7 separate regions of the Homo sapiens genome follow, and regions 2, 3, 4, 5, 6 and 7 are each linked to region 1. The links are contacts of gene promoters, found by promoter capture Hi-C in blood cells and fetal thymus (Javierre and others, 2016). All regions are on one chromosome and are shown on one strand. The core of a region is centred on a gene start or on the middle of the fragment in contact, and the rest is flanking DNA. Distances in the headings are between cores, read along the strand shown. Region 1 holds the start of ABCA1 (ATP binding cassette subfamily A member 1). Region 2 has its middle 19 kb from the start of FSD1L. Region 3 has its middle 40 kb from the start of FSD1L. Region 4 overlaps SLC44A1 (solute carrier family 44 member 1). Region 5 overlaps SLC44A1 (solute carrier family 44 member 1). Region 6 overlaps SLC44A1 (solute carrier family 44 member 1). Region 7 overlaps SLC44A1 (solute carrier family 44 member 1).

Region 1 (3,152 bases), core at 394-2,893:
GTTCCTCCCCGTCTGCAACCACCGGTCTTCACCGGATTCACAGTCGGAACCGCGAGCAAAGACACCTAGTAGAGCCGGCCGATTCCTAGGTCCTCCGGCCAGGAGGCGCTGCGGGCCAGTCTCCGGGGGCCACCGCAGCCCGCGCGCCCAGCACCCCCACCCTCACGGCAGAGCCCAGCCCAGCCCCGCGGCGGAGCTCCGAGTTCTGCGCCGCCCGCCGGGGTTACTCCCGGTCATTCCACGGCACCACCTCGGCCCAGCTTCCCCATCTGCGCCCAGGCAGAAGCTGCCCCGAGAGACCAGCAGCAACGGTCTGGAAGATGGGGCTGCAGGGAACGTGGGAGAGGGAGGATTGGGCACCCCACCTCCGGGTCTCCGCAGGCTCTCCTAAGTCTTGTTTTTAAAAGAAACAAAACTCGGCCGCGCGCGGTGGCTCACGCCTATAATCCCAGCACTTGGGGAGGCCGAGGCCGGTGGATCACCTGAGGTCGAGGGTTCGAGACCAGCCTGGCCAACAAGTTGAAACCCCGTCTCTACTAAAAATACAAAAATTAGCTGGATGTGGTGACGCGCCTGTAATCCCAGCTACTCAGGAGGCTGAGGCAGGAGAATCGCTTGAACCCGGGAGGCGGAGGTTGCAGTGAGCGGAGATCGTTCCATTGCACTCCAGCCTGGGCGACAGACCGAGACTTAAAGGAAAGAAAAAAAAGAAAAAGAAAAGGAAACAAAACTCGTCCGCGCTCTGCGCCAGGGACACCAGCTCAGCTGAGCGCACGGAGACTGTAGGCAGGACCTCCCTACCCCTCAGGTCAAACAAAGACCCAAGGCCTCTAGTGAGCAATAGCACCACGGACCGTTTGGGACACCTCCAACTCGAGTTCCCGGATTCACAGTCCGGGACTGTGCCGCTCCAGTCCCGGGGAGCATATAGCCAATTCCCAGGTCAGAACAGACCAGCTTCTTAAGAACCGAGTGAAGACTCAGTGCTGGCATTTGTCTCCGTAGGTACTGGCCGACCTGCAACCAGAAGGGTTTCTAGCCAGCTCAGGGCCCTCCGAACAAAGCAGCGCTCGGTGCCGGACCTGCAGCTCTCCCCACCCGGCAGCAGCGCCCTCAGCACGCCCGGGAACCCCCGACCCCTCTGAGCCCGGGGTACTGCGCCCGGGTCTCCACGCCCAGAGATGCTCCCCGGTCTCCACCGTCGGGCAAGCCCCAAGCGCAGCAGCGCAGAGTCCTGGGGTCACCAGAGCTCGTACTAGGACATCGTCTCCCCATTTAACACCGCCTCCGGTCCCATCTGAGTTGCAAGTGGTGGGGATGTGGGGCTCCGGATCAAAGTCCCCGAAACCGAGCACTTCCCGAAGCCTCCTTGGCCTCGAAACAAAACAATAACGCCCAAGTAAGTCACTGGAGAGCCTCTTACCTGTTTTCCACTTTTGTGTTTGCGTCTCTTTCTCCTACCCCTTGACAAGCCTTCCGGAGAAGGGGAGAAAACAGAACCGGGGAAAAAACAAGGAGCAAAGCGCCCTGAGAACCGGCTCTGTTGGTGCGCGGAGCTCCCCGCCCTGCCCTGCCGCAGCCCGGGAGAGAAGGGTCGGCTCGGCTCTGCGGGTCCCGGCCCCACTCACTCTCGCTCGCAATTACGGGGTTTTTGCCGGGACTAGTTCCTTTTATAGATTCGGCTGCACCGAGCGCAGAGGTTACTATCGGTCAAAGCCTGTGCTCTCCCTCCTCCCCGCCCCGTTCCCGGCCTCTGTTTATGTAGTTCAGTCACTCAGCAGAAAGCACGTGGAGCCGGGGCCCGCCCCTTAAACGGGCGACGTTCAGCCGCCCACGACACATCTAGGGAGTTGGGGGGAGGTGGGTGGGGTGGGGGTGGAGGGTACAGCAGGTGTCTTAGGGTCCGCGGTCTGCGTCCCCTTCCCCCGCCCGGGCCCGCCGGCCTAAGACGCGCGGGAAGCGCTGGGCTCGGGGCTGCGCCGCAGACTCTCTAGTCCACGTTCCCGGCAGCCAAGGGCACCAGTGGAATTTGCTTCCTCTAAATCCTGCTTTCCGCAATTTTTTTTTCCTTTGTTAGTTTCCTCAGCCGGAGGGAGGGATTGGGGGAGAGAGAGCTCTAGGCTGAATCTCCCTCAGGACGCCAATCATTTTGTCTTGTCTTTTGTTTCCTTTCAAAGGCCTAGGCTGGGGTGAGGGGAAGGCGGACAGTCCTCTGGGTAATGGGCTGCTTTTGTTTTCCCCCCACAAACCTGGACTTTGATTTTTGATAGGCGACCTACTGCCTTGGAGATTCCCAGCCTGAGCTCCCCAGGTCCCTCAGAGGACCCGAGAGGAACATCTTACTGCTTCTCTTCATAAATTGAGAGGAAGGAGGCCACAAAAACAAAAAAAGAAACAAACAAACAAAAACACAGAACAATATGGACCAGCCCCCTTTTAATTTCATTATATTGATCAGCCTCCCTGTGATAAAAACACAGGACTTGTATTTAGTTTGTATACATTTGTGAAGTGCAGCCAGAGAATTGCAGTCGTGTAAAATTATGTAGCCACTCCAGACCTCCAACTTATCTGTTTGCCTTTGGCTGTAGGGGAGCAAAACTACCCAAAACACTGGAGGGGCAAAAAAAAAGGCAAGAGTAGGAATGCAGGCCTACACACCATATGTCTAAATATTTAAGTCATCCATCAAGCCAACAAACTAAATGTCACCTTATTCTGGCCAAAACTCAGGTCAAACTGTGAAGAGTCTAAATATGAATCTGCCCTGAAGGGCAGATTCATAGAAGACTCAGGACAGACCCGTAGAAGAGGCCCAAGCAGGCCCTGGAAGTGCACGTGGAGGCCACAAGGTCTCCTACCTTGACAAAGATACCTTTGTAGCCACCTTGAAGGGCAGATTCACATTTAGACTCTTCACAGTTTGACCTGAGTTTTGGCCAGAATGAGGTGGCATGAGAGAGCTGCCCCAAGCCTACTTCTCTTCCCACCTCCAGCTCCATCATATTCCAGAACTCCCACCACCTGCATACAGACATTCAGCTGCACAAGCCCCCTCCATGCTACAGTCAACAGGATCTCCAGGCCACGGCTCAAGCCCAGGTACTCACATCAGTGGTTCTATCAACACTCAGGACAGACCCATAGAAGAG
Region 2 (3,152 bases), core at 251-2,750, 500 kb after region 1:
CTCTACCAATCCTTTGTACTAAAGTCTATGAATGTCACCATTTTCCACATCCGGCAGATACTCATATCATCATTCTTATCACCCTTAATAATAACGGCAAAAGATGACAGCCCTTTGTTATTTTAATTTGTATTTTTTAGTAATTTATTAGTCCTTTATGTTTCCTCTTCCGTAAATTCTGTATTCATGTCCTTTGCCATTTTGTTATTGAGATGTCACCATTTTTCCTACTGTTGAATAAAAGATTTTTATGTATTAGGGATACTAGTACTTTTTCGGTCATATTAGTAGCAAATCTTTTTCCTTCTTTGTAGTTTGTCTTTTAATTTTGCTGGTGATAATTTTACCTATAATCTATACGATGTAAATTTTTGATAATTTCCTTAAGCCCCCAAATCAGTAAATTTATTGATAATTCCCTTACGCCCCCAAATCAGTTAAATAGTTACCTATATTTTCTATTTTTAAAAAATTATTTTCTTTTATAAATTAAGATACAATTTATATTCTATTTTTAATGGTTTCCTTTCACTTTTTATACTTATTAATAGCTAGAAATAATTTTGTGATATAATATGGAGTCAGGCCCATTTGTTATGCAATTTATTCCTTCCCCCATCAACTTGTGTGGATATTTTGTCACATGGAGTAGATCTATGATATTCTAAGAAGTATAGTTGTTCAGAGTTTAGACTCTGTGATCAACCACATCTGGGTTCAGATCCTAGCTCTGCCATCTTTTTGGTCCTGGGCAAGTTACTTAGCCCATCTAATTCTCAGTTTCCCCATCTGTAAAAGACTGATTGTTGGGAGGATTCCATTATCCTGAGTATGCAGAACAGTCAGCATGGGCTGTGCTACCTAGGAAACATTTAGTACAGTATGCATTCACTACTAGAATTATGACTATGATATCGATGAAGTTATTCATAACTTTTTTTTTTGAGATGGAGTCTCGTTCCCATTGCGCAGGCTGGAGGGCAGTGGCGCAATCTCGGCGCCCTACAGCCTCCGCCTCCTGGGTTTAAGCGATTCTCCTGCCTCACCCTCTGGAGTTGTAGTAGCTGGGACTACAGGCACGCGCCACCACGCCCAGCTAATTTTTGTATTTTTAGTAGAGTCAGGGTTTCACCATGTTGGCCAGGATGGTCTCGATCTCCTGACCTCGTGATCCGCCTGCCTTAGCCTCCCAGAGTGCTGGGATTACAGGCATGAGCCACCACACCCGGCCGGTTATTCATAACTTTAATAAATTCGGATATTCTTGAATGGTGCAGGAATACTCACTTCAAACTTTTAATGAGTTACTGGGCATATGGTCAAAAAATAAAACAAAGCTGCATTCACATCTCCACAGTGGCTGTTTCCTTGTCTCACTCACAGGTAAGTGATACGCTTCCACATCCACAGGGCACACAATTCGTATCTTGCCTTAAAAGGAAGAACTGAAAGGATATAAAACCAGATTATCTCAAAGGTTAGAGTGATTTAGGAGTAGGGCTTTTCTGTATTACTTTAATCTTTTTGGTTTGTTTTCGTTTTTGTTTTGAGACGAGGTCTGGCTCTGTCATCCAGGCTGGAGTGCAGTGGCACGATCACAGCTCACCGCAACCTCCGCCTTCTTGGCTCAAGCCATCCTCCCACCTCAGCCTCCCGAGTAGCTGGGACTACAAGTATGTGCCACCGTGCCTGGCTAATTTTTGAATTTTCTGTAGAGACAAGGTTTTGCCATGTTGTGCAGGCTGCTCTCAAACTCCTGGGCTCAAGCTATCCTCCTGCGTTGACCTCTCAAAGTGCTGAGATTATAGGCATGCACCACAACACCTGGCCCTTCTGTATTACCTTAATTTTTGACAGTAATTATGCCTACTGAGGGGAAAACAATAAAGATGTACCCTTGGAAAAAGTGCTTACCTCAATGAAGTTACAGATTAATCATCATCCAAGATTTAGAATTTATTGCAAATAGTAAAAACATTAACACTTAAATCTTCAAATACGGAGAAGCCTTTTAGGAACCATTTCAAGGTATGCAGAAATTTGGTGTGATCTCAATTTTATTTAAATCTTCTTTCATATTTCTTTATGCATGTGTATACCTTAATTATAGGTTGTAAAATTACAAGTATATATATATATTTTGAGACAGGGTCTCATTTTGTTGCTCAGGCTGGAGTGCAGTGGCATGATTACAGCTCACCACAGCTTTGACCCTTCCAGGCTCCTCCTGCCTCAGTGATCCTCCTGCCTCAGCCCCCTGAGTAGCTGGGACTACAGGCATGTGCCGCCAATGCCCGGCGAATTTTTAAATTTTTTGTAGAGACATGGTCCCTCTATGTCTCCAGCTCCTTGGCTCAAGCAATCCTCTTCCCTTGGCTTCCCCGTGCCTGAATTACAGGCATGAGCCACCACGCCTGGCCTAATTATAGTTCTTATGATGTGGAGCTCAATCATCTATTACTAAATTATTTCATAGTTATTTTCTTTCTCTTTTTTAAAAAATTAAGATATCATTAACATATCATAACACTGACCATTTTAAAGTGTTTACTTCATGGTTTTTGGCAAATGCACAAAGCTGTGCAACTAAGACCACCACGTGACTCTAGAACATTTCATTGGCCCAAAGAGAAACTCCATGCCTTTTAGCATTCAGTGCCTATTCCCCTCACCCAGCCCCTGGAAACCACTATTCTACTTTATTTTGCTGTGGATTTGCCTATTTTGGATTCACGTGAAAGAAATTATACAATATGTAGAATTATTTTTGTCAGCTTTTCACTTAGCATGTTTTCAAGTTTCAATAATGTTGTAGCATATACCAATATTTCATCTCTTTTTATGGCTGAATAATGTTCTGATGTGTGATATATTATATTTCGTTCATTTATTCATCAGTTAATGGATACTTAGGTTGGATTTGCACCTTTTCGCTATTCTGAATAATGCTGCTATGAGCATTCGTACACAAGTTTTTGTGCGGACATACGTTTTCAATTTTTTTGGTTATATACATAGGAGTGGAATTCCTAGGTCATATGGTAATCCTGTATTTAACTTTTTGAGGAATGCCAAATTGATTTACACAGCAGCTGCCCCATTTTACATTCCCACCAGCAATGTATGAGGGTTCCAATTTTTCTACATCCTCG
Region 3 (3,152 bases), core at 436-2,935, 480 kb after region 1:
CCTGGAGTTGAAAATAACTGATATCAAAAATTCACTAAGAGGGGTTCAGTAGCAGATTTGAGCAGGCAGAAGAAAGAATCACCAAATTTGAAGATAGATCAACTGAGATTATTCAGTCTAAGGAGCAGAAAAAGAAAAGAGTGAAGAAAACTGAACAGAGCCTAGGAGACCTGTGGGATACCCTCAAGCATACCAACATACACAGAATGGGAGTCCCAGAAAGAGAAGAGAGAAAGAAAGGAGCAGAAAGAATATTTGAAGAAATATTGTCTTATAAGGTCTGGGCTATAAAGAAAAAAATACTTGAAGAAATAATGGTTGAAAACTCCTCAAAAGTGATAAAGACATGAATGCACATCTAAGAAGCTCGACAAACTCCACATAAAATAAACCTAAAGAGATCCACACTCAAACAGATTATAACCAAATTGTTGACAAAGAAACATAGAAAATATTGAGTGCAGCAAGAGGGAAGCAGCTCACTACATATAAGTGATCCTTAATAAGATTATTCCCTGATTTATCAGAATGAGGGATGATGTATAGTAACCCTGAAAGAAAAACAATTGTTAATCAAGAATCCTGTATTCAATAAAATTCTCCACCAAAACTGAAAGAAGGCCAGGCACAGTGGCTCACACCTGTAATCCCACTGTAATCTCAGCACTTTGGGAGGCTGAGGCAGGCGGATTACCTGAGGTCAGGAGTTCAAGACCAGCCTGGCCAACATGAGGAAGCCTTGTCTATACTAAAAATACAAAAATTAGCTGGGCGTGATGGCACATGTCTGTAATCCCAGCTACTTGGGAGGCTGAAGCAGGAGAATCACTTGAACCTGGGAGGTGGAGATTACAGTGAGCTGAGATCATGCCACTGCACTCCAGCCTGGACAACAGACCAAGACTCTGTCTCAAAAAATAAAAATAAGGCCAGGCACGATGGCTCACACCTGTAATCCCAGCACTTTGAGAGGCCGAGGCAGGTGGATCACCTGAGGTCAGGAGTTGGAGACCAGCCTGGCCAACATGGTGAAACCCTGTCTATACTAAAGATACAAAAATTAGCTGGCATAGTGGTAGGCGCCTGTAATCCCAGCTCAGGCAGGAGAATTGCTTGAACCTGGGAGGCGGAGGCTGCTGTGAGCCGAGATCTCGCCACTGCACTCCAGCCTGGGCGACAGACTGAGATTCCGTCTCAAAAAATAAAATAAAATAAAAACAAAAAACTGAAAGAAATCAAGACATTCTCATACAAACAAAAGTTGAGGAAGTTTGCTTCTAGTAGACCTGCCCTATGAGAAATGCTAAGGGAAATTATTCAGGAAGAAATGAAAGAACACAAGTAACTCTAGCTATACAAAAAAATAAAAAATAAAAACATCAGTAAGGAAACTACATAGGTAAACATAAAAGCTAGTATTATTGTATTTTTTGTTTGTCACTCATTTGTTGTTGTTGTTGTTGTTGTATTTGAGACGGAGTCTTGCTCTGTTGCTCAGGCTGAGTGTAGTGGCATGATCTCAGCTCACTGCAACCTCCACCTCCTGGGTTCAAGTGATTCTCCTGCCTCAGCCTCCTGAGTAGCTGGGACTACAGGTGCATGCCACCACATCTGGCTAATTTTTGTCTTTTTTAGTAGAGACAGAGTTTTACCATGTTGCCCAGGCTGGTCTCGAACTCCTGACCTCAGGTGATCCACCCACCTCGGCTTCCCAAAGTGCTGGGATTACAGGCGTGAGCCACCGCACCCGGCCTGTCACTCACTTTTTTTCTACATGATTTAAAAGGCAAATGCATAAAACAATAATTATAAATGTATCTGAATGAACACACAATGTATAAAGATATAATGTATGACAATAACAACATAAAGGGAGAAGGTGGAGCTACATAGGAACACAGTGTTTGTACATTATTTAAGCTAAATTGGTATTAATTCAAACTAAATTATTATAAATTTAGGATGTTAATTATAACCCCCAAGGTAACATTAACAAAATAACTAAAAATATACATTCATAAAAGGAAATGAGAATCAAAATAATACACTAGAAAAATCAATTAAACATAAGAGAAGACACAGATATGATATAAAGGAAATAAACAACAAAATGGCAGAAGCAAGGCCTTACTTACCAGTTTTTTAAAATGTAAATGGATTAAACTCTTCAGTTAAAAGGCAGAGTTAGTGGCATAGATTAAAAAACAGACTCCAACTATATAATATCTGCAAGAGACTCAATTTACGTCCAAAGACACAAATAGGATGAAAGTGAAAAGATGGAAAAAGATATTCCATGCAAATAGTCATCAAAAGAGAACTGGAGTAGCTATAGAAATATCAGACAAAACAGCCAGTAAGACAAAAATTGTTACTAGAGAGGACATTTTATAGTCATAAAAGGAACAATGCATCAATAACATATAGCAATTATAAACATATGTGGGCCAAGTGCAGTGGCTCACCCTTGTAATCCCAACACTTTGGGAGGCCAAAATGGGAGGGTCACTTGAGCCTAGGTGTTCGAGACCAGCCTCAGCAACAAAACAAGACCCTGTCTCTACAAAAAGTTTTAAAATTAGTCGGGTGTAGTGGCGTGTGCTGGTAGTTCTAGCTACTCAGGAGGCTAAGGTGGGAAGATCCCTTGAGCCCAGGAGGTCGAGGTTGCAGTGAGCTATGATCACGCCACTGCACTCCAGCCTTGGTGACAAAATAAAAAATAAGCATATGTGCATCTAATAAGAGAATCCACAGTACACGAAACAGAAACTAACAGAATTAAATGGAGAAATAGACAAATCAACAATAATAGTTGAGACTTCAATATTTCATTTTCAAAATGGATAGAATAACTAGACAGAAGATCAAGAAGAAAATAGAAGACTTGAAGAGCATCATACACCAACTAGACATAATAGACATCTGTAGAGCACTTTATTCAACACTATTCTTCTGAAGTGCACATGGATCATTCTCAAGGCTAAACCATGTTAGGCCACAAAACAAATCACAGTAAATTTTAAAAGATTTAAATCATATAAAGTATATTCTAGGTCAAAATAGAATGAAATTAGAAATAAATAACAAGGAAATTGACTCAAAATGTTATGAAAATAACAAGTAAATTACCTCAAAATAGACCTAAATATAAG
Region 4 (3,152 bases), core at 307-2,806, 460 kb after region 1:
TTGGGCAGATGGAGGCACACCAGTAATCTTCCCATCAGGTTCCATGCCTGCCCTCCACACCTTTCTGTATCCCTCTTATTTCACAAAAGCTGAGGAGGGCAGCAGTGGAGATTCTGCCAACCCTATGGCAACATGGAGAAATGAGGAAGGCTTCCTTCCTTCTACTGCTTGGAGGTCCTAATTGTTCAGCAAATCGATTCTAAGCCCAAAACTTAACAAGACATATGAAATCTTAAAATATAAACCAAGCTTTTCCCCCTTTTCTGTCTTTCTAGTGATTGAAGCTTTCATTACATCATTCAGTAATAAGCATTTAAAGAAAGGGAGAAATATTTCGAGGTTGAAGACTAGGTAATGTGGCCATGAGTTGGCACAGATTTCTATAGTATTCTTTAATGAATGGTAGATGAATTGTAGTAGATCAGAATGCAAGTATACTTTCCTTACCTAAACTCCTAATTTATAGGTAATAATCCTGGGAGAATTGCCCAGGTTATGTGGCATTCTACCAGATGCCAAATATTTTAGAAAGAGTTGTTTCCTATTAGTATTTTCAGTTTTGAAATAGTGTCCCTTACTTCAAACAATGCATTAAAATCTTTATTTAATTTTTGCTTTCATTTTATGCTGTTCATCAGTTCATTGCTTGCAGATTAATGGCAAAAACCCTCTGCTGCATCCCAAAATACATCTTCTATGTGCATTGTTCTGGTGCTTTGGACATTGTAGCATTGGGTCCCTAAGAATGATGTTTTAAATGGTTAAAAAGTTCCCAGAAGACAAGTGTGAAATGCTGCTCACAGAGTAGTTTTATTTTTTCAGCACCTTAGTACCTTCTTTATTTCTCTTCCATAGTATGCATGATTAGAGTTGGCCCCTACTAACACCATTCCTTTGCATGTGTTTCTAAAAAAGTATTTCAGAAATTTCTACTGAAAGTTTGGGGATTGATAGAATTTAGGATTGCTTATTTGTATTTGCTTGATATAATTCACATATTGTTGCTGTAGATGAAAGTTCTATAAAAGAGCATCATGCCTATTTTGCATTAGCTCTAGAAACATTGCTGCTGTTTGAATTCACTATCTTCCTCCCTCCTCAATGAGATATTTTAATTTAGGCTTCATTTTTAGCCTATAAAATAATGTTCAGTAAAATGAGGTTTTATATTTTCCTTTTGACAGCAGATCATTGAACTAAACATGAGAACTTCCGGTTTTGTTCTTGAACTTTTCCCTGAGAGAGGCTCGCTAGTTAAGGAAACTTTAAAGATTTATGAATTTTTTTATGATTCTCTGAAAGTGATTTTGGAAAAATGTACCAAAAGTGATGAAGAGGTTTAGGAAAGAGATTTTCTGACTGTCTGCTTGCTATCATATAGGAAAGAACTTAAAGAGAAAAGGGAGGAAAAATCCTAGACACTGTAGGAACATGGGCCAGAGAAGTATGCTCTGTGTATCTCAGAGATGATCCTGGATAAAGTGTGACTTTCAACATTCATAAGAATTTCAGCTCCAGGAATTCAGGGGAGAAGGATTCTCAGTCCATTTTGCTGTCTTGCTGTTTGTGACCATGTGTATATTTGTAACATCATTCATGATCTCCTTTTAATGGTAATTGTCTAAGATTATACTCTGTATGACTTTGTTTTCTAGGCTTCGGGAGCAAGTTCTGCTTGAACCTAGCCGACGGTTATGGAAACCCATTGACATTCCAAAACAATATATACACATAACTATGTATTTGTGTGTGTGGGTGTGTGTATATATGTATATGTATGTGTGTATATATGTATATGTATATACACACACACACATAAATCAGCCAAAATCAGAGAAAAGGAACAGGGATTTAATACCTTTTTTATGCTTATTTTTGTCAAACATGTACTCCTTTCATACGGGTGGCTTTTACAAGGCAACTTCCGTCATTTAATGTTTTCAACTGTAATTGTCTTAATGGAAATGTTAAAATTCATATCTGATTAACATTTTTAATAACTTAGAGGAGATTTTAACTTTATTTAAAAATAGGTAAAATTATTGTACCTAATTATGTCTAAAGTTTATTCAGGGGTAATTTCCCTGATGTCTGTATAAAATCAAGATCTTATTTTACTGATGCATAAGTCCTAGTGGGTCAAGACTAGGCATATGCTTTCAGATAAATAAGGAATTACTCCAATCAGTTTTCCCCAATCAAAGAAGCCATGTCATTTTACTTTTAGAAACATACAATTGGGCCCAATATGGGAATTTTCATAATAGTTCATACATTTGTCAGCCAACATTAAAAGGTAACCAACTCCTCAGGTATTTGTAGTTTACCCTAACGCTTCTTTAAAAGAAAGTAGGTAAAAAAAGAAAAGGGTAGATAATCTTTCGTATGCAAACTTTTCCCTTATATTTTGTCTTTCTTTCCTTTTTGACTTTAGTAGCATCCTCCACACATTTGTGTGCCTGATTTGAAAGGAAGCTGGGGCACCCAGCGAGTTTAGCCTTTAAGTTTCTGTGTATTGATTTGCAGATTAAGTAATGCTGGGAGGAATAAAGAAGGGACAGAAACATGGAACATAAAGCATTGAAAATTCCGGTGCTTGGGCTTCGGCTTCAGAGTAACGTCAGTGGCTTAGGGTTAAACGGCCATTTTATTCAAATGCTTGCTATACAATCTGAAAACACACTGGCAGGTGCTCCTCTCCTTGGCAATTCATTGAGTATCCAGAGTTCTACGATGTTTAACTGAAGAATTGGCTAATGTTTTGATCCTCCAGTGTGACTGTTGTTTTTGTTTGGGGGTGGGTTTGGGGTTTTTTGCTTTTTTATTCCTGAAGCTTACCAGATATGAATGGCTAATACTCCATTGTTCTGCTTGTTGTAATGGTGAATGCTTTAAGAAAAAAAAGTGTAATTTGCTAAGAATAATTCATGATCTGTTTATGCGATAACTCCTTTTTGTTACAATTTTTTTAAAAAAAGCTATTTTTGTTAATGTAAAGTAAATATTTCAGAGCAAATTTTTTAAACTTATTGCACTAAATACAGGCTCTGTACAAAAAAAAAAAAAAAAAAAAAGCCTCAGCATTTTATCATTCCATGGAAGGAGAATCTTTTGAAAGAAAGCATTGCCTCCTACCAGAACTAGACAGTGAA
Region 5 (3,152 bases), core at 434-2,933, 440 kb after region 1:
AAATATATATACATTTCTGAGTGGTGTAAGCAAACAAAAATATGGTTTATTATAGAAAATACGCACACATCTCAAATTGTAATGATTCATTCTGTAAACTACGACAATTATGTTTTTAAAGAAAATCTATTGAGGTCAGGCACGGTGGCTCACGCCTGTAATCCCAACACTTTTGGAGGCCGAGGCAGGTGGATCATTTGAGGTCAGGAGTTCGAGACCATCTTGGCCAACATGGTGAAACCCCATCTCTACTAAAAATACAAAAATTAGCCAGGTGTGCTGGCTCGTGCCTGTAGTCCCAGCTACTCCGGAGGCCGAGGCAGGAGAATCGCTTGAACCTGGGAGGTGGAGGTTGTAGTGAGCCGAGATTGAGCCATTGCATTCCAGCCTGGGCAACAGAGTGAGACTCTTTCAAGAAAAAAGAAAGAAAGCCTGTTGAAATTAAGATTTGCAACACACTTGTAATTTTTATGACCTTGAAAAAGTCTAAGAATTTAGAACAAAATTAGATAAAGCCTACAGTATGGGTTTGACTTTGTGCCCTGTCTTAATCTGTTCAGGCTTCTATAACAAAATACCATACACTAGGTGGCTTCTAAACAACAGAAATTTATTTTTCATAGTTATGTAGTTGATGAGAACTATTCCAATAGTTCTAGAGGCTGGGAAATCCAAGAACAAGGCACCAGCAAATTCAGTGGTTTGTGCGGGCCTGTTTCCTGGTTCAGAGATGGTGCTTTCTTGCTGTGACTTCACATGGTGGAAGAGACAAAACAGCTCTTTGGGGTATTTTTTTAAATAAGGGCACTAATCCATTCATGAGAGTAGAGCCCTCATGACCTAATCACCTCCTGAAGACCCTACCTACTAATACCATTACCTTGCTGACTATGTTTCAACATACCAACTTTGAGAAGACACAAACATTCAGACCATAGCATTCCCCTTCTCTCCTTTGCCTCAAATAAGAAAGGAATAATTGTAATTACCCTTTCATTTCTTTAATTTATACGAATCCACACAGAACTGCACATACCCTATATTCCCTTAGCATTATTGTGTAGCTTGCCCCTATTAAGTGAGTCATTATGTGAATATTTTAAACTTTAAGAGAATTTCTGGGTCCTTCACTAGAGAAAGGAAAGAAGATGTGAAAATGAAGAAGTTGTATTCTGGGACAGATGGCCACACAGGCCTGTTCCATGCATGGTGACCCTCTGCCCTAACATATTTTCTTTCACATGATCAGTACTTTTTAACTATATCCCATCACACAAAAGTACAACCAGGGATTGCGTAGGCTAACAGGCATCCTTTAAAAAGATTCCTGGATGGTGGTCATCCTTCACCTTGCTCCTGGGGGTTGAATATTCTCAAGCTTGTGTCCTGCCCAAGCAAATGTTGAGCGTGGGCTAAATGTTAATCAGTGATGTCTGTCTGTGGGCAGTTTAACTCCAGATAAGGAAGGCTGTCTGAGAAGGTGGGTGGACTCTAAAAATCTCAACCAAGAAGTCTGAAGAAAGCTCAGAGAATAGTTATCAGGGAAAGCCACAAAGGACTCCGAAATTCTTAAGAACTTAAGCAAGAATTATTTTAGACTAGGAAGTATAGAAAAGGAGGGAATTTTCATTTGCCTGCTGTGATCTGCAGCACATTTTTCTTCCTGAAGAGGTCATCTTGACCTTTGTGTATCCAGTTCATCTTCCTACCTTGGGAGTGAGTGAAAGAGCTTGCAAAATATCCACCTACTTTTTTTCAGTTGGGTTGAATACAAAGGAATTGCATAGATCCATAGAAATATTGCCTTTTAAAAGGCTAAATTTCTGGACATTCGACCCTCACAGAAATTTCTCAGAGGGGTGGAGAAAAGAAATTATTGCTGCTTATCTACCAACAAATAGACTTCTGCCCTAAAAGCAGATGGAATGGGGCAGGGTGGGGTGATAAGAAAGAAGCAAAAGAGGAATAATAATAATTCTCAAATGAAATGAAGCTTCTAAAAACTAATGAGGGAAACAAAAAAAGCTTTTATAGTTTAGTTTGGAAGTGTTGGGCATTCTCCTCGTGTAAGCTGGTCTGATGATAACAGAGGAGAGAGAATGGAGACGTGTGGGTCCTTTCTTGCTTCCGTCTCAAGGAAATTCATGGTAAACTGGAAAGGGCAGAACACTTTAGTTAAGAGTGAGTTGTTCCCATTGAGGGCGGGAGTGAACATAAGCTAGTACCTAGTTGATTTAAATGGGTTGTCCAATTTCCTTGATTCTAGACATTATGAAGCTATTTAGTATCAGGATGTATCTCATAATCAATATGTGTATTTAATATGGTAGGATATTTTCTCCCAAAAACTTGTTATGAATAACTGGCTCATTAGTCTCTTGATTATATCTTAGAATGTGGGAAATAAGGTATTTCTCTTCAAAGGAGTTATATCCCAGATCACTGAAGACCTTTGTCAATTAAATTGTTGAACTGAAGAATTACAGTGAAAGATGCTGAAAGATTGGAAGTTGTGGAGGAAGTTACTAAAACTTGAAATGAGCAAATGTGGTTTGTATTTCCAGTAAGAGGGTGGGTTCCACATACAGTAGATGAGTGAGTAGATGAGGTTGATATTAATCCTTGGCAGTACTCTAGAACAGGAGGTCAGCAAGCTTTCTCTGTGAGGGACCAGAGAGTAAATATTTTTGGCTTTGTGGGCCATACAGGATCTTTCACGACGGCACAGTTCCATCACCGTAGCATGAAAGCAGCCATAGACAATATGTAAACAATGAGCACAGTTATGTGCCAGTAAAACTTTATTTACAAAAGTAATTGGCAGGCCAGGTGCGGTGGCTCACGCCTGTAATCCCAGCACTTTGGGAGGCCAAGGAGGCCTTGTGGATCACAAGGCCAGGAGATCGAGACCATCCTAGCTAACACGGTGAAACCCCGTCTCTACTAAAAATACAAAAAATTAGCCGGGTGCCTGTAGTCCCAGCTACTCGGGAGGCTGAGGCAGGAGAATGGTGTGAACCCGGGAGGCAGAGCTTGCAGTGAGCTGAGATCGTGCCTCTGCACTTCAGCCTGGGCGACAGAGTGAGACTCCATCTCACAAAAAAAAAAAAAAAAAAAAAGTAATTGGCAGGCCAGATATGGCCTGCAGGTGG
Region 6 (3,152 bases), core at 268-2,767, 420 kb after region 1:
GAACTGGAGCCTGGGTCTCCTCACTTAACAATATATTATACAATGAACCTTCCAGTATTCTAGTTGCTGTATTTTAAAATTAACGGATCAGGAAAATAAGATGTATATTGGATTTAGTGGACTTTATCCATCTCAATTATCTATACTAAGGAAATCAATGTATATACCAGCTTTATAGAGTTATAGTAAATTATATAACACATAAATGTATTATGTAAATTTTACATTGTGTACATTTTACATATATTAGATATGTGTTGGCCATATAATCAGAAAAATTAATTTTTTTTTGCATAGCCAATCTAAAGTTGAATTTAAGCTGTCTTAAACTCTGAAAACTAGGAATCACTTTTATCAATTTATCAGTTTTATCAATTTTTTCAGTTTATTTACAGTTAGGAATGTTTCCTGCTTTTTAAATAAGTAATGTATTATCTGAATTTACATGTGTTATATGCATTAATTGTAAGCATTTAGTAATTGAAAGCATAGGAAAAACAGGCATAATGTGTAGCTGAGCACAGGCTTTGTAGTGAAAGAGATGTGGTGTTTAATCCCAGTTCTACTCCTACTAGCTCTGTGTTCTTAGGCAAGTTATTTACCTTATCTCTTAGCCTCTATTTCCTTCTCTTTAAAGTAGGCTTAATAATACCTGCCTTACAGAATTATAGTAAATTGTATAATGCATAAATGTCATCTTGCAGAGAACCTGACACTCAATAAAGGTAGTTCTAGTACTTATTGTTATTACCTTTAATATTAATTAAAATTTGTACATGAATTACATTAATAGTAATTTTAGAGAAGAATCAGTTTTAAATGATTGAGGACTTATAATATGGATCAAATCAGATTTTTATGAATTCTATAATGTTTGGAAAGTTGCATATGTTGAATAATACAAAATTAAAATGAATAGTAAGAGAATTTTTTCAGACTGTTCTGCCACCTAACATAATTTTTCTTTCAACAGGTTCAGCCCTATGTAGCTACAACCTAAAGCCTTCTGAATACACTACATCTCCAAAATCTTCTGTTCTCTGCCCCAAACTACCAGTTCCAGCGAGGTAAATTTTATTGCAAAGTTGTTAACTTGTGACTGTTGTTTTTGTAGGTAAATTTTAAACAATATATGTTATTCTGAGAAAATAGTCATTTGATACCTGTTGGCCAGGTCCAATACTTTTATTAAAAAAATTTTAAAGTAGCAATAGAAATGACATTATATATTTAATATTTAAAAACAACACATAGGCAACCAACTTTTCTTGTTCTGACATATTTTAAATTTCATTTCTTTTAGGGGCTTGCTTTTTTTGTTTTTATTTTCATGCCATAATTTTTAAGTGCACAAAACCACTGAACTGCTGTAAAATCTGCAACAAACTTAGAAACCAAGTCTCACAATCTCCAAAGAGTTTTTTTGATTTATCCTAGTAATATTTACTGGGATTGTTTTAAATTTATTTTGTAAATTTAGAAAGTCTGCCAGTGATTATTCCCCATAGTTTCTTTCAGGTTATATTTTTTAGGTAACATTCTCTGTATTAGGTTGTTTGCTATATCTTATCCAAGGTCTTCTTCAACAAACATTTATTATTAAGTACCTACTGTGCATGATGGATACAAAGATGAAACAAGAAATGTTCTTTGGAAGGATCTCAAAGTAGTGATAAGTAAAGCAACATTTAAAATTATAAATAGATTTTTTGAAAGGAAATGAATTATCAAGCATTGTAAAATATATGCTCAGAATTAGGTAGGTATACGTATCTGTATATGTGTGTATGTATATTTGTGCACACACACACCCCCACATACTTTGGAGTGTTGGTCAGATCACAACCTTAGTGTATATTGCCAACTGTGTGTAACATGAGTCAACTTCTCCAGGAAAATGTACTTGAGGCCACTTTAATTGTATCTCAATATATTATAGGAAGCTGTTGTATAAAAAATTTTGAGACTCATGTCTACTTTCTTTTGGATTACTTATGGGTGTAACTTGGGTTTTATTAACTTGAATTTGAATTTTTCTGTTGAAAGTAGAAAAAAGATATATCAGTTAAATATATTTTCAGCTCATTAATCTTGTCAAGTTGCTATTGAAAAATCAAAATTTAAAGCCTGTAGACATAAAACTAAAGGGACTATTTTAAAAGATAGTAAGAGAGACTTACAAATTATGGCCTTAAACCAACAGCTACGGAGATTACATTCATATAAATTGAGAATATTAGGGAGGCTGTGGGAGTAAAGAAAAGGGGATCCTTTGAATAGTCTTAGGAGAAAATTTATCCATATAAAAATTAGAAAAGCTCTATACCCTTATCTATCCAACTGGTAAAGTCTGTTTTAAATATATTCTTTGAATATAGAATCATGCTCTCAAGATTAAAACATATTATGACAGTATAGCCAGAAAGCCTGGGTGTGAGAGGGAGGTCTCTGCTCCTGTGTAATAGGGGCAGGATGTCAGGTGGGGGCAGCTCAGCTCATCCTGCACATCCTTCCCCGCCTCTGACCTCTGATGCCACTATGTTGAGGACTGCCTGTTCCTGGTTATTTTGGGTTTTCCAGTTTTTGGTACACACATGCATCTCACAATGTCCTAGGGGTATTCACTGGAAGACAAAGAATAGTATTAGGGGAGAAGATTTTAGAGATGGACAGAAATGGCTTCTAACAAGGTCATCATCTGATATCTCACTAATCTAAAATGCAGTGCTGAACCTATACCATCTGAAAACTGACGGCATGCTGTGTTTATGCTGTGTTTAAAGATCCTTATGTTTTACTTATTTTAGTGCATCACAGTCTAAGTATGTTATCACTTTTGTCTGAACTAAGCCAGTTGGAAAGTAAAAGAGAAGAACATTTGATAGAAAGAAGGCAAATCTTGTAAATACCAGAGCTATATAGTATTAGATAAACAAACTGAAAGGATCTGAGAATAAGAATAAATTTGTTTTAATAAAAAGACTTGAGGCATCACCCCATTCCACCCATCGTTGTATTAGATACCAAGTCTCCAAAGATGAGTAAGACCTAGTCTCTGTCTTTAAACTCATAGTCTAGTAGGGACTATGTTTTTGGTGACTTTTTTTAATGGCAAAAGACCAGCACCAGGCAAAACTATGAGGCAGGCAAGT
Region 7 (3,152 bases), core at 276-2,775, 400 kb after region 1:
AAAGATTCACTGAGGATAACAACGACAAACTTGCTCTTAACTTAGGTTTATGGATTATCTGTGACATGGGCTCTCCACCTTGGAGATGGCATAGGGAAGGGGGAGGTATGGAGGCCAAGGCACATAATCAGAGTTGGCCTGAGAAGCTTTTTCAAAATGTATGTGCTGCATCTCTTTCCTGATCCTTGCCCTGTTGGGAGTGAAAGTAGGTGGATACTGCGTGTTACCCTCTCAGCTGAAATACTCATCTGTAGTTTTCAGTTACAATAATCTGGTTTGTCAATACCATGCTTATTACGATTATTTGTTTCATTGTCTAAAAATAAAACTATCAGTTCATTTTGTTTAAAGTGAAAACTGAAAAACTAATGTAAGCATTTATTTACCTGGTTAAGGACATTTTCCAATCAAAAGGCAAGAAAGTGCAGTTTTAATAAATCATAAATTGGTTTGATACAAGCACTTGGCCTCCTATAAATATTCAGTTAAATATGAATTAGTTAAAGTATAATTACTTTTAAGCATGTTGCCATGGATTGGATGAACTTCAGAATGCTGGAAACAGAATATTCAAAGTTAATAGAGAACAGTTAAATTTACTAATGATATTTGTAGGAAATATTTTGGAATAGTGCAGAATGGAAACAGTGAAACTCAGAATCAGAGGTACTATGTTTGAATTCATGCTTTGGCACCTACTAGCTCTCTTGGGCCTGGTGGTTAGGCCTCAAGGCCTCAGTTTTAACATCTTTGGAATAGTTATGGCCCCTACCTCACAGAGTTGTTGCAAAGATCAAATAAGTTCTTGAATGTGACAGTGACTAACACCTACACACCCAACAAATGTTAATAGAATCTGAACCTAAGGTCAAGGTCTGTATGTTATTTTTAACTTCATGTGTGTGCATTTGAATATGTGAAAGGCATAGAGAATTAAGCTTAATATCTTTTCTTTTCCTTCTTTGTTTCTTTTTTTTTTTTTTTTTTTGAGACACAGTCTCGCTCTGTTGCCCAGGCTGGAGTGCGGTGGTGCGACCTCGGCTCACTGCAATCTCCGCCTCCTGGGTTCAAGCGATTCTCCTGCCTCAGCCTCCCAAGTAGCTGGAATTACAGGTGCCTGCCACCACACTCAGCTAATTTTTGTGTTTTTGGTAGAGATGGGGTTTCACCATGTTGTCCAGGCTTGTCTCCAACTCCTGACCTTAAGCGATCTGCCCACCTTGGCCTCCCAAAGTGCTGGGTTTACAGGCTTGAGCCACTGCACCTGGCCAGCTTAATATATTCTTAGACTATGGAAGGCAGGTAAGATACAGAGTGTAAACATGTGATGTATGTGAGTGTGTATTTCTTGAAGATGTGTATTTCTTATTCAAATAAGTTTTTAGATCTTTTCAAACCATATACACAGGCTGAAAAATGTGCAGTGTTAATTTCACAGTGTTGTAGTCATGGTAGCATTCTTCTCACCCTCCTGTTCTTGTTTTCTTTGTGCTGGATCTGTTTTGGGGGCCTACTTGGTTCTCAAGGGTAATGACCTTACCCTTAGTCATGAATACTCCTACACAGATTTTTTTTTCCTAAATGAAAACCGAATGTTAGTATTGTATCCCTGTTTTATGCCCATATAAGAAAGGGTTGAGTTTAGTTCCTTACTATGAAATGTAAGATGTATGGAAAGCAAATAGTATTCTTAATGGTAATGACACGAATCACTGAGTGCATACTATGTTAGGTGCTTTATATATATTATTGATCACATTACAACAAACTATAAAATCGGTGATATGTAATTTTTCAGATAAGGAAACTGAGGCTCAGAAGGATAAATATATTTTCCAAGGTCAGAGAACTATTAAGAGAGAACCAGAAAGCAAGTTCACATTGGTCTGACTAAAGCAAGGGATAAGGTTGCTGCCCAGTCACTAGCATAAATCAAAGGAATATGTTTTAAGGTATAAAAGAAGTTAGAAATATAATAGGGATACTTTTGCCCTTGGAGGAGGCTGAAGCCTACAGGACAGACAGTGTATCTATTCTCAAGAGGTTGTCATTGATCCAGCCTAGGCCCAGCAGCAAGGCCCTGGCAGCTTCTGGCTTTTTTTTCCTTTTCCCTAAGCTTCTTTTTCTACTGTGATGTGATTTCCCCAGATGGTTCTCAAGGCATTGCTCATCACTTAGAACTGTGTACTCAATGCCTCTCTCCCATCCCAGTTCCACTGCCCACCTCCCACCCCATAGAGAAACACACAACAGAATTACTGTGAGAGTTAAATGAGTTAATACATGTAAAGTGTTTAATACGGTGTCTGATAAATAGTAAGTACTCAATAAAATTGGCTATCATTTTTAAAAGTCTTTATCATTAAGTATTATTAGGCCAGGCACAGTGGCTTATCATACCTGTAATCCCAGCACTTTGGGAGGCCAAGGCGGGTGGATCACCTGAGGTCAGGAGTTCAAGACCAGCCTGGCCAACATGGTGAAACCCCGTTTCTACTAAAAATACAAAAATTAGCCGGGTGTGGTAGTAGGTGCCTGTAATTCCAGCTACTCAGGAGGCTGAGGCAGGAGAATCGTTTGAACCTCAAAGGCTGAGGTTGCAGTCAGCTGAGACCATGCCATTGCACTCCAGCCTGTGCAACAGGGCAGAACTCCATCTCAAAAAAAAAAAAAGAAGTATTCTTAGTAGTGATGGTGGTGGTGATGGCAATGGTAGCAGTGATAGTGGTGGTGGTGGTGGTAGCAGTAGTGGTTGATTCAAAGGTTTTGTGACACATTTCTCAAGGACCTGATTGTTCCCTGTCCAGAATCTGTCTTTGTGCAATTCATTATACAGGGTCAAAGGCATAGACATGCTTAGTCAGACGCCCAGGATAGAAGAAGGGAGAATTAGTAAGAGAATGCTTGTTTCTACTCAGAAGTTGCCAGAAACAATTCTCTGTATGCCCTGCTTCCTTGTTATCAGCCATGGAAACAGTCCACAAAACCTACTTCTAAACCTCATCTTTCTGCCTGGCTTTTTTTCTTTCCTTCTATCTGCATAGATAGAACATTAATGGGTTTGGAGTCACTGATAGGGTCACACACACATTTTTTTTTTTTTTTCGTTTGGTAAGTTATACCTGACCTTCATGCCGGGTTCCCAGTCCCCT

Evidence for each region. The method cuts DNA at HindIII sites, captures the fragments that hold promoters and counts their contacts. A CHiCAGO score of 5 or more calls a contact.
Region 2: a fragment that was not itself captured here is called in contact with the fragment with the promoter of ABCA1 in region 1 in 14 of 17 cell types (total CD8 T cells, non-activated CD4 T cells, activated CD4 T cells and 11 more); the score reaches 8.3 in total CD8 T cells.
Region 3: a fragment that was not itself captured here is called in contact with the fragment with the promoter of ABCA1 in region 1 in 17 of 17 cell types (total CD4 T cells, naive CD4 T cells, naive CD8 T cells and 14 more); the score reaches 17.4 in total CD4 T cells.
Region 4: a fragment that was not itself captured here is called in contact with the fragment with the promoter of ABCA1 in region 1 in 11 of 17 cell types (monocytes, total B cells, total CD4 T cells and 8 more); the score reaches 9.2 in monocytes.
Region 5: a contact is called between a fragment that was not itself captured here and the fragment with the promoter of ABCA1 in region 1, in 14 of 17 cell types (M2 macrophages, M0 macrophages, fetal thymus and 11 more). The highest score is 8.9, in M2 macrophages.
Region 6: a fragment that was not itself captured here is called in contact with the fragment with the promoter of ABCA1 in region 1 in 2 of 17 cell types (neutrophils and naive CD8 T cells); the score reaches 5.9 in neutrophils.
Region 7: a fragment that was not itself captured here is called in contact with the fragment with the promoter of ABCA1 in region 1 in 2 of 17 cell types (M2 macrophages and monocytes); the score reaches 5.2 in M2 macrophages.

What each region holds. Positions count from the first base shown.
Region 1 is chr9:104,926,512-104,929,663 of GRCh38, forward strand. ABCA1 (ATP binding cassette subfamily A member 1) reads right to left here and starts at 1,644. Exons shown (of 50, transcript NM_005502.4): 1 at 1,424-1,644. It overlaps LOC105376196 (a long non-coding RNA gene), which reads left to right and starts at 278. Exons shown (of 3, transcript NR_188620.1): 1 at 278-1,399; 2 at 2,997-3,152. RefSeq lists silencers at 38-277, 1,614-1,803 and enhancers at 954-1,013, 1,334-1,413. The HindIII fragment of the contact is 9,744 bases long and covers 1-3,152 here.
Region 2 is chr9:105,427,773-105,430,924 of GRCh38, forward strand. It overlaps a transcript of SLC44A1 not described here. Among named protein-coding and RNA genes, the nearest start is that of FSD1L, 19 kb to the right of the region's middle. The HindIII fragment of the contact is 6,517 bases long and covers 1-3,152 here.
Region 3 is chr9:105,406,958-105,410,109 of GRCh38, forward strand. It overlaps a transcript of SLC44A1 not described here. Among named protein-coding and RNA genes, the nearest start is that of FSD1L, 40 kb to the right of the region's middle. The HindIII fragment of the contact is 5,811 bases long and covers 1-3,152 here.
Region 4 is chr9:105,387,378-105,390,529 of GRCh38, forward strand. It overlaps SLC44A1 (solute carrier family 44 member 1), which reads left to right. Exons shown (of 16, transcript NM_080546.5): 16 at 1,656-3,152. The coding sequence ends at 1,679. Among named protein-coding and RNA genes, the nearest start is that of FSD1L, 59 kb to the right of the region's middle. The HindIII fragment of the contact is 2,549 bases long and covers 283-2,831 here.
Region 5 is chr9:105,368,623-105,371,774 of GRCh38, forward strand. All of the region lies in intron 12 of SLC44A1 (solute carrier family 44 member 1), which reads left to right. Among named protein-coding and RNA genes, the nearest start is that of FSD1L, 78 kb to the right of the region's middle. The HindIII fragment of the contact is 615 bases long and covers 1,377-1,991 here.
Region 6 is chr9:105,347,385-105,350,536 of GRCh38, forward strand. It overlaps SLC44A1 (solute carrier family 44 member 1), which reads left to right. Exons shown (of 16, transcript NM_080546.5): 5 at 974-1,067. Among named protein-coding and RNA genes, the nearest start is that of FSD1L, 99 kb to the right of the region's middle. The HindIII fragment of the contact is 4,132 bases long and covers 1-3,152 here.
Region 7 is chr9:105,331,150-105,334,301 of GRCh38, forward strand. All of the region lies in intron 3 of SLC44A1 (solute carrier family 44 member 1), which reads left to right. Among named protein-coding and RNA genes, the nearest start is that of SLC44A1, 88 kb to the left of the region's middle. The HindIII fragment of the contact is 1,178 bases long and covers 937-2,114 here.